Regions from separate parts of the Homo sapiens genome. Here region 2 is linked to region 1. Evidence: promoter capture Hi-C in 16 types of primary human blood cells and fetal thymus (Javierre and others, 2016). All regions are on one chromosome and are shown on one strand. Each heading gives the region's core, a stretch centred on a gene start or on the middle of the fragment in contact. The rest is flanking DNA. Distances are from core to core; before and after follow the strand shown. Region 1 holds the start of KPLCE (KPRP N-terminal and LCE C-terminal like protein). Region 2 has its middle 4.8 kb from the start of LCE3E.

Region 1 (5,565 bases), core at 1,212-3,711:
ACTACTTTCCTCTCTCTTGTACAAAACCAATAGAGTGGGTTAGAGAAAGCATTAGAACAGCTGGAGAAAAGAGGAGAGGTTTTATTCCTAGGTTAATTCCTATGGAGCAGAGAATACTAAGATTGGGTAAGTATAGAGAAAATTAACAAGGGAGACAGAAAAACTCAAACCATCTACATAACCAGGACCAGAACCAGGTGGGATTGAGGAGGAAAGGAGAGTGAGCAAGGAGAGAAAGAGATGAAAGAAGCCACAATGTCTGGATATTAGGAGCATTTGGGGTAGTTTAGTGAGAGACTGATGAACAGCTATGGAATATGAAGGAATTGAAAAGGATAGAAATAGGATTTTTAGAAGTTTGCATTGGGTTTTAAAGAGGATTCCCTACAATATTTTCAGTGCTGAGTTGGGCTTTGCAGATACCATTCTCTAAAGAGACTAGACCACAGGGAACTTTAGCACCCCATCCTCCAACATTGCAGGACCCAGTTGGTGGTACAAGAGGAAAGTGTGGCCCTGGCCAAGGCAGTTCCTTCCCTGAGTGGGTTTCCAGTGACTGGGCTGTAAGTTTAGGGAGTTTGGATGAAGGGATATTGTGCTGTTTGTGGAGATACAGGTGTTTAGACATTCAAAGGCAGCAGAGTAGTCAAGATGATCTTCTGCTAGTGTCCAGGGTTAGAAACAAACACATGATTCCCTTTTTCATTCATTCCTTTATGCGTTCATTTATACATCACCAAACATTGTCTCCTATGCACCAGACCTTGTGGGATTGTTTTGAACACTTGTTACTCCTCTATTTTTTTAATGTGTGTATTTGGAATCTTTAGTTACAAAAGTCCACCCCAAATTCTCTAGAGCTAGCTAAGCAATGGAGAAGAAAAAGCTAACTAGGGTGAGGGGCCCAGAAGGGGGCCCAGAAGCCCCTCGCACAAGATTCACCTTCCTTTGGAGATGGCTCACTTACTACCAGGACTGACCTGGTGAATACCTACCCACTTCAGGGGGCTCCTAGCCTTTTCCCTCAGGCCTTCAACCTATAGTTTCAACAGGGCAAGCCTGTCAGATGAGAAAATGTAATTCATAAAGTCCTGCATGGGTTCAAGCCCTCTGCACAGTGGTGGAGACATGGTCCAGTGATACTGACCATGACCAGTGATACTGGTCCATGAGCAGATACAATTTCACAATCTCTCCAACACCCAGGAAGATGAGGGTCTCATCATGGTCAACCCTGCTCTGAGGCTCATCAAAGGGCAGCACAGAAACAGCCCCAACCCTCAAATCTCCATTTTCAGATGCTTCTAACTTGCGTGGGAAAGTTTATTCACAGCATTCTAGAAGGCATGGGGCTCCCAGGCTGGGATTTCACCAGCTCAGTCTGCTTGTTCATGTTCGTGCAGATCTTTCCTCTAGCTGAGAAACAAGAGTAAGAAGAGAGGGATGCAGAAGAGTGCCTGATAGAAAAGCATAAATATGGACCAAACAAACAGACAGAAATTACCACGAAATGCATTCAGAGCTTTATTCATGCCAAAGTTTGGGGACTGTACTAACTCTGGCAGGCTGCCTTGGTAGAGAAGCAAAGCACAGAGGCAAAGTGATGAGGTTCTACATCACTGGCACTAACAGAGAGGGGGCCAGAAGCTGGTGCATGTTCCAGAAGGGGTAGCGGGGCAGTGCATTCTGGAGTTGAGCTGTCGTATGTTTAGCAGCAGCAGTCATCCTCATGGTCACAGCATGCAGGACCTCGGGACCTCATGGGGATAATTCCCAAACAGCAGCACCCAGAGCTGCCACATCCACAGCTGCAGCCACAGCCCCCAGAACCACAGCATCCAGAGCTTCCCGAATTCTCACAGCAGCCAGATGATCCTGTGTTGCAGTTCTGGGGCCGCTGAATCCAGCGTCTCAGGGGACTCACCCCGAAGGTCCGGGGAGCCAGACAGCAGTAGCTGGTGGAACAGGGAGCAGAGCATGGGTCAGTGACACAGTACTGGGAGGTTGAGCCACTTGCAGGAGCTTGAACATAATAGCTCTGGCAAGGAGAAGCACCCTGGACATAGCACGTCTGGGTCTGGCAGGGAGCTGGACTTTTGATGTAGGTCATCTGGCAGGGAGCTGGGCACTTCACGTAGGTTTGGCAGGGAGTTGGGCATTTTACATAGGTTGTCTGGCAGGGAGCTGGGCACTTCACATAGGTTTGGCAGGGTGTTGGGTATTTCACATAGGTCCTCTGGCAGGGAGCTGGGCACTTCACGTAGGTTTGAGTCTGGCATGGAACTTGGTACTTCACATAAGTTTGAGTAGGGCATGGAGCAGGGCCTGTCACACAGACAGTTTGGGTCTGGCATGGAACTGGGCATTTCACAGAGGCACCATTGCTACCCTGCCCAGCCCCTAGTCCCGAACCTTTCACACAAGATGGAGGGAACTGTGGCTGCTTCTGCTGGTCACACATTGTTCTGTGGCTTTGCAAAATCTGAAAAGAAAGGTTTCATTAGAACTGTAAAACCAGGAAGGTTTCTAGGGGAAACCTTCAACATCCCCTTTGAATACAGTGATTTGCAAGCAAGGCTTTCTTGAGAAGGTTGCAGACATCCAGAGGCTGTATACTTGGCAGGAGGTGGATTCAGAGCCAGGGACTCTCAGCTCAGCTTCTGTGCCTGTACCTGGCTATGTGGCTTGGTACAAGTCATCGCTTACCTCTGGGCCTCAGTCTCTATATTGGGAAATGGAGGCTTGAAATGGTGCTGCCTGTGTTTCTACCCAACTCTCCAAGCCTCCTCTCCTCTTTCTTCAGTGTCTGCATTGTGAATTACCCTTTGGAAATTGCTGCTCCCAGATGATTGACCCCTGCCACCAGTTCTCTCCAGGGTGACTTCCCTTCTTCCTTCTGCCCAGACAAGGAATACCCAGCAAAGACAAATTTATGTCCATGGACCCTGAGCCAACATGAGCCTCAAGCTGTGCCCGGTACTGAGCAAAGAACAAGGCTAAATTTGAGCAGGTTTCTACCAGGTGCTCCTTGAACCAGCTGGACTAATCAGTTGGCCTCATTAGCACATAGACCCAAGAGAGGACTGCACAATTGCATTCAGATAAGGGGATGGGGAGCCAGTTCTCTAAAGTCCCTTCTTAAACAGGAATGCCAGCTCATCGTGTCCCCCTCCCTCTCCTCTCATGCCCCAGGCTCCAAGTTTCCCACCAGCATTGCTTTCAGCCTCCTTCAGCAGATTTCCTAAGCATCTAGTCCTCGCTCACCCTTCATCCCACAGCTCTCATCCCACCCCAGCTTCCCCAAAGCTCTGTTTCTCACCATGTCCTTATCCCGTATAGAGACTTACCCTCTTTGCTGATAGGAGCAAGACTGGAAGAAGTCAGTGATCTGAAAAACTAGCAGGTGGGGAGACCTTTTATAGGGCAGCAATGAGGCAATTTAATGGCATCTAAATGAAGCACCAGAGATCACAAGGAGAAGGGATGGTGTTGCATTGGCAAGATTCCTCCCCAGTATGCCTGGCTCCTCAGTCAGAGGCAGGGCATGTCTGTGCTTGACATTGGGTTTTCCCAAACACTAGATAAATGATTCCTGTTCCCTTCCTCAGGAAACAAGTCAGTCTCCTTTTCCTATAAGTTATGAGTGATGCCTATGTGATCTGTCTCTAATGAAGCTGTTTCCAGGTCACTTGAGTCTTCAGGACTTATCCAAGTTATAGTTAGATTCTCAATTTTTCATACACTGTGCCAAAAGCTAAGTGTAGCTCAGAGAATCAAACTAAAATTGAGAATCTAATCTAAAGCTAAGTGTAGCTTTTGGCACAGTGTATGAAAAATTGAGAATTTAACTATAGATTCACCTCACTTCACTCAGCCTAAATGAGTGTTCTGTGGGCTTCCAAGGTAACTTCTGCTGGTCTAGGTTGCTGAGCACAGTTTGGCCCAGTGGTCTCTGGCCCAATATGACACAAGACCTCCAAAAAATGGTTTGTTTCATGGAACATCAGGTTATTCTAGGTTCATTTGGAAACTGGGTGGGTGCTTAATGATCCTAGGCCCCAGGCTGGAGTCTAGACTGCCTCCCCTCAGCCTTCTCATGCCCCTTAGGCTCCCCCATTCTTACCTTTCAGGACCTCACTACCAGGCTTCAATTCCAAAGAACGCTGAGCAGGGAAAATTCCAGCCAGATGAGCACTGTGTGATAACAACAACAACAATAATAATAGAATCTAAAGTTTATTTGAATACTTTATATATAACAATTCATGAGGCAGTACATTTACAAATGGACACAACTGAGGCCCTGAAAGTTTAAGGGAGTTACCCTCATCACAAAGCAGGTAAGTAAGGAAGCTAGGCCTCAGATGCAGGAGTCTGCTTTCATAGATCATGATCTTTATTACTACAATATGTTGCCTTTTATTTCTGAACATGGCATTGTCCTTGAATCCCTGCCTGTTTTCTTTTCCACAATGCAGAAGATGTAGAAAGAGAGGTGGGAATATTATCTACTGAGCACTTACTATGTGGTGGATACTGTCCTAGGCTCTTTGCCTGTGTTATTTCATTTGATTTTGAAATAACTCTATGAGACAGGCTTCATTAGCCCCAATTTTACACAAGAGAAAACTGAGACCCAGAGGTCCACTTTTCCAAGGTCATCCCATCAGTAGGTAATGGAGTGACATTGCAACCCAAGCCTATCCAGCTCCAGAGCCCATGCTACCCCCACTGAGCTATATTGGGTCGCCCACTGAAGAAAGTTGTCTTGAGCCTAAGCCTAGCACTGGTCCAAATGTCAATTCCTTAGATAAACCAGTGCAGGCTCCACCGTGGCCCCTACGGCCTCTCAGGTAAATTGTTCTACTGTATTTGTACATAATAGATCCCCACATTTCCCAGGACCCATAAGCTTTAAGGCTTCTACATTTCCTAAACAAAGAGGATGCAAAGACCCACTAATTCACAGCCCCTCTCCCATGTCAAGCCAGGTCCTGCGAAGTCTTCCCCTGAATACTTTAAATATCTCCCCAACCCCACCTACCAGCCACCCCAATCTCTCGTAACCAGCACTCTGCTCTCTATTTCCATGAGATCAACATTTCTAGATTCCACATATAAATTAGATCATGCAGTATGTCTATCTATGCCTGGCTTATTTTGCTTAGCATAATATCTTCCCGGTTCATTCACCTTCTCACAAATGACAGGATTTCCTTCTTTTTGTGACTGAATAGTATTCTTTGTGTATATATAGCATTTTTAAACATCCATTTATCCTTTGATTTACACTTAGGTTGATTCCTTTTATTGCCTATTGTGAATAGTGCTGCAATAAATGTGGGAATGCAGATATCTCTTCAATATTACTGACTTCAATATCTTTGGATATATACCTACTAGTGTGATTGATGGATTATATGCCAGTTCTATTTTTAATTTTTGAAGACCCTCCATACTGTTTTCCACATGGTTGTACTAAATTGCATTCCCACCAATGGTGTGTTAGATTTTATTTTCTCCACATCCTTGGCAACATGTTATCTTTTATCTTCCTAATTTCAC
Region 2 (5,211 bases), core at 760-3,259, 150 kb after region 1:
ACAGGAATTTTGTCCATCCCCCTTCTCTCTGCAGGGACACCTCTGCCTCCTAGGTTTCATGAGTTTCTCTGTGTCTCTCTGACCATAAACTGCAAGGGGAGGTCAGACTCCTTATCCCTTTGTTCCTGCTCCATGCCCATCATCAGCTCCTATAGGCTGCTGACCTCACCTCAACTACTCTCAAGTGATACCAAATGACAACCTCTGGGCACACTGAGGAGACAGGAGACTGATAGCCAAAAGCTCTTGCATAAGCCTCAGGACTCAACACATGTTTTATGTAGCTTTCATCATCTTGGGTCATAGTCATTTGATCACCTGTCTGTCTGCCCTGCTACAAGGTGAGCTACTCAACCAGAACCACATCTCATTTATTTATAATTAGGTGTGTCCACCATCCAATGGATTGCACATCTATCACCATGCCCACTGTGTAATATCTGTTCATTTTTTAGAGAATAGAAGAAAGTAAAGAAGGAATGTAAAGAGAGGGGGAGAGCAAAAGAGGATGGGAGAAAGAGAAGAAAACACACCAAAAACAAACTTAAGAAATAGGTACCCGGACAGTCTTGGGGCATCCCAGATCCTTCTCTTAGAAAAACTTACTCTTTCCTCCCCCACACCTCCCGCCCCCCCGCCTACTACCAGGACCCTGCAGCCTATAAGCAAGCAACATAGAACCTGGTAACAAGATCCTGTCCAGAGAGTCTATGAACTAGAACTTCCTGAGACATCTGCCTCTTTCCTCAAGGTGTTCAGACAGACACTCCCTGAGCACCAAGCTTCAGTCACTAAGGTGCCCCCCAGCTCAGGCCCAGGGAGAAGCCTCAGACCCCTTGGTGTGACAAAGACAGGTAAAGAAGTAGAAGAGGATAGTAGAAGTTGAGACTAGAGAAATCAGCCAGTTCCTGACCAGCCAGAGACTAGTACTGTAGCCAAAGAATTTTTTGTTTGTTTTGTGGACAATAGGTACGTATGCACGTAAGCCCACAGGTGATCTCATTCTCCAACCTCCAATTCTTTCTCTTCCACCTCATGTGATCTGATCCTCTCAAACCTGACTGTGCATCAGAATCACCTGGGAGATACTAAAACCCTGATGCCTAGCCCAAGCCAACCAGCGTCTTGAGGGATGAAACTCAGAGTTTTGTATTTTTAAAAAACCCTCCAAGATGATGCCAATGTGCAGCCAAAGCTGAGAACTTCTGAGGTAGAGGATTCTCTTCTCTCCAGAAATTCCACCCTCCCTGATCTCCTGGCATCCATCTTCTCCCTACCTCCCCGACCCCCATCTCCTCTTTCTATATGTGACTTTCTGAAATAACAAAACTTTCTTCAACTTTATCTGCCTTCCCTACACCACTCTTAGCAACTCAAAGCCCCCTGGATGATTGGAGGTCTGACCCATTCCTCAGCACTCCAGGCCCACCATGACCTGTACTGAAAATTGGAGCCCAGCTCAAGAGTAAAGAAAGATCATGTCACAGACCACCCAAGATAGCTCACAGAAACTGAAGGTTTTGAGGGTGACATGGAGTTTGGAGACAAAACTTTTCATTGTTGACATCTGAAGTCTTTCACATTTTTCACCACAAAGCCCTGATTTTACAGTGATAATTAGCTCCAAGAAGGAATGTTTTCCTAAATGCAGTTTAAAAAATATTATGCAATTTATGAAATTGAGTATTGATTTATTTATTGACTGATATTGGAAAGAGAGGAAGAACCAAGAGAGATCCTTGGCAGGAAAATCTTCCAAGGGCCTCTGAAGTTTATTAAGTAGTCTGAACTCAGTGTCAGATACAAATAGTGACTTATTTTTCCTCTAGTCTCTGTCTTCTACTATGTTATACTGACTCTACTTTGATAATATCTCAAGTGTGTTTCAGGCCTTTCTAATCATTTTTCAGGTATTCAGGAAGCATCCTATCCTGTCCAGTTGGATATAACTCAGAATAAGAATATTAACTCCTCCCTCTCCAACCCAGCACAGCCCAACTGTCTCCTAAAGGACTGTGTGGAAAACAGGCATCTAGTGTGTGGAAAAGAGACATGGTTAGTTCCATCATTTATTGTCCACCTCCTCCTCTCCCCTGCGGGTTCCCTTTATTCTGCACTGTTTTGAGGCCGGAATGAGAAAAGGGGGGACAAAGCAAATATCTCATATTTGGCTGGTACTGCTAGTGTCTCTCAGTGGCTGCATCCTCTCTGTGCTGACCCATGAGGGCTCTCTTACCAGATAAATGACTGATTTCTTTAAGGAACCTTTAGCACAGTGACCTGATGTGAAAAATTTGGCCTCTTTTGACACTCCCCTGCACTCTTAGCCCCATTGGTACAGGCCTCTTGCCTTGATAGCCACATTCCCAGCAGGACTGTGGCAGTACAGCTATGCCTAGCTGCCCTCCAAACTGTCCACTGGCTCAGGGAAACTCATGAACTCTGGCCATGTCAAGCAGTAAGGGACTGGCTGCTTCTCTTTTCCCCATTCTCCTTTCCATTTTCCCTTTCCAATTATTTTTCACTCTCCAGAATAGCCAGAGAACTGTTCAGCAAGTCCAATGATGACACTGAGACCTGAAATTTTAGTCTTCCTGGGTTTTGCGTGTGTGTGTGTGTGTGTGTGTGTGTTTTATTGTTTTGTTTTGTTTTGTTTTGAGATGGAATCTTGCTCTGCCGCCCAGGCTGGAGTGCAGTGGCACAATCTCAGCTCACTGCAAACTCCGTCTCCCTGGTTCAAGCGATTCTCCTGCCTCAGCCTCCTGGGTAGTTGGGATTACAGGCACCAGCCAACACACCCAGCTATTTTTGTATTTTTAGTATAGATGGGGTTTCACCACGTTGGCAAGGCTGGTCTTGAACTCCTGACCTCAAGTGATCCACCCACCTTCACCTCCCAAAGTGTTGAGATTACAAGCATGAGCCACCGCTACTGGCCAAGTCTTTCTGTTTTTTAGGCATTGATAAGTTCTACAATTTGTCCCCTTGAAATTTCTATGACTTTTCCTCTAGTGGAGGGTAAGAGTAATAACCTGTTGCTTCCCCATGTGAAATGTAAGGGGAAAATCCACAGCATTCTATCCAGTTTTGAAAACTTCTCATTACTATAACAAGAGAAGAGTGATAGCATCTCAGGGCTCCTTCCAACCTCTTTATAAGGTGGAGAGTTATTTGTGCCTATTGTTTACAAGTTGGCAGTTATTTTTGTCAAATCTCAATAAAACAGGAAAAGCTTAATCTTACTTTCTCATATATGACCTGGATATTATATGGAAGCATCTCTGTGGTGATGAGAAGAGCTGTATATCTCAAAATAATAATGCTTATTGGATGTGAAGTTTGTGACCCAGATGAAAAACTAGGGACTCATGTTTTCACTTAAGAAGACAAGGTTGGGAATGATTGAGCAAGGATCTCCAAAAATCTGCTCTTCCATTAAAAACACCTTGAAAATGAAAAATTGTGAAAATCAACTTTTGCAAAACTCTGGAGATTTACCAAAGGCTTGCAAAAATATTAGAGTGTTCACTTAAGAAAAGCAGTTGAATATGGGTAAGAGCAGTGAGCTTTGTGACATTTTAACTTGCCCTATTATCATCTCCCTGTTCCCAGTGCCATAATAGTCTTGAAATCTAAAATGCTAGTAGCACATGGAGGTAACAGAACATATCTGAAACTATCCAAAAACCCCATCCCTAGAGAAATGTCATTATCTGACTATATGGCACATAATGAAGATCCCATTCCCATTTCCCCTAGAAATCCCAACTAGCCAAGCTTGTTTTCATTCCAGTTGACTCAGAACTCTCTCACTGAAAACAGCTTTTACCCCAGGGTGTTTGCCAAAAACAATCAGTAAAAAATGTTTAGCATCACAGCTGCCTGTGATGGTGATAATAGTTGGGCAAATCAGAAGTTGACCAAAAACTTAGATGGAAAATCTGAGGAATGAGATTCTCATAGAGAGTTTTAAAAATCTATGACACATTTCTGGAAATCTAGGAGACTATGTGGACTTACAGGGTGTGTGCATGTACAGAAAAGACCTGGGAAGACCCTAATATCTCAACTTTGACTGATCTTGAAGTTCCATCCAAGCAGGAAATGAAACCTAAGACAGATTTGTAAACTGTCTTCTGAAGTCTTGAAAACATGCCCCAACATACACACAGAGGTCCTCAGCAAAGGTTGAAAGACATTAACTCAAGGCATTTAAGGAAATCTCTGTCTACTAAGCTAACTGAGTACAGAGTTAAATGACTACACACAATAAAGAATACAGATTTTACAAAATTGGTTCAGGAAAGTCATGAAGCAAATGGACAGTGAAAACAAACAGCAACAAACCCCAGAGAGGGTTGGGAAATTTGATTTCCAGGATTTTATATCATTTTAAATGTCCAATTATTAACCAAAAAAGAAAGAAAGCTACAAATAAACAAGAAAGTATGACCTACACAAGGGGCAAAGTCCAGGGAGGTAGTCAAGAGAGACTGTCCCTGAAGAAGTTTAAACATTGGTTTTACTAGACAAAGATAAAAATCAACTATTTTAAATGTGCTTAAAGTACTAAAATAAACTACGTCTTAAGAATTAAAAGAAAACATAAGAATGTTGTCTTGCCAAATAGAGAATAACAACAAAGAATTAAAAAGAATTTCTTAAAACAACCAAATAGAAATTTGAGGCTTGACAAATATAATAACTGAAATTTAAAATTGACTAGAAGGGCTCAACAGCAGGTTTGAACTAGAAGAACAAATCAGTGAACTTGAAGATAGGTCAATTGTGATTATCCAACCCGAGGAACAGAAAGAAATAAGATTGAATAAAAATTAACAGAGCCTTCAGAGGCCTGTGAGTAACCATCAAGCCCACCAACATGTTTATAATAAGAATCCCAGGAGGAGATGAGAGAAATAAAAAGACAGGAAGAATATTCAAAGGAATAACAGTTAATTACTTATCAAATTTGATGAAAAATATTAATCTACACATCTAAGAAGATCAACAAACTCCTAGCAGGGTATAGTCAAACCTCTCCACACCTAAACACACCATAGTACAAATGTCAAAAGACAAAGAGAGAATTTTTAAAACAGCAAAAGAGAAAAGACCCATCATATACAAAAAAAATTAATAATAACATTAACAGCTGGTTTCTCATCAGAAACCATGGAGGACAGAAGCCAGTTGGATAACACATTCAAA

The links. The method cuts DNA at HindIII sites, captures the fragments that hold promoters and counts their contacts. A CHiCAGO score of 5 or more calls a contact.
Region 2: a contact is called between a fragment that was not itself captured here and the fragment with the promoter of KPLCE in region 1, in 1 of 17 cell types (total CD4 T cells). The highest score is 5.0, in total CD4 T cells.

What each region holds. Positions count from the first base shown.
Region 1 is chr1:152,716,418-152,721,982 of GRCh38, reverse strand. It overlaps KPLCE (KPRP N-terminal and LCE C-terminal like protein), which reads right to left and starts at 2,461. Exons shown (of 1, transcript NM_001024679.3): 1 at 1,513-2,461. The coding sequence starts at 2,461. The coding sequence ends at 1,709. The HindIII fragment of the contact is 5,275 bases long and covers 1-4,914 here.
Region 2 is chr1:152,569,011-152,574,221 of GRCh38, reverse strand. No RefSeq gene overlaps it. Among named protein-coding and RNA genes, the nearest start is that of LCE3E, 4.8 kb to the right of the region's middle. The HindIII fragment of the contact is 2,450 bases long and covers 785-3,234 here.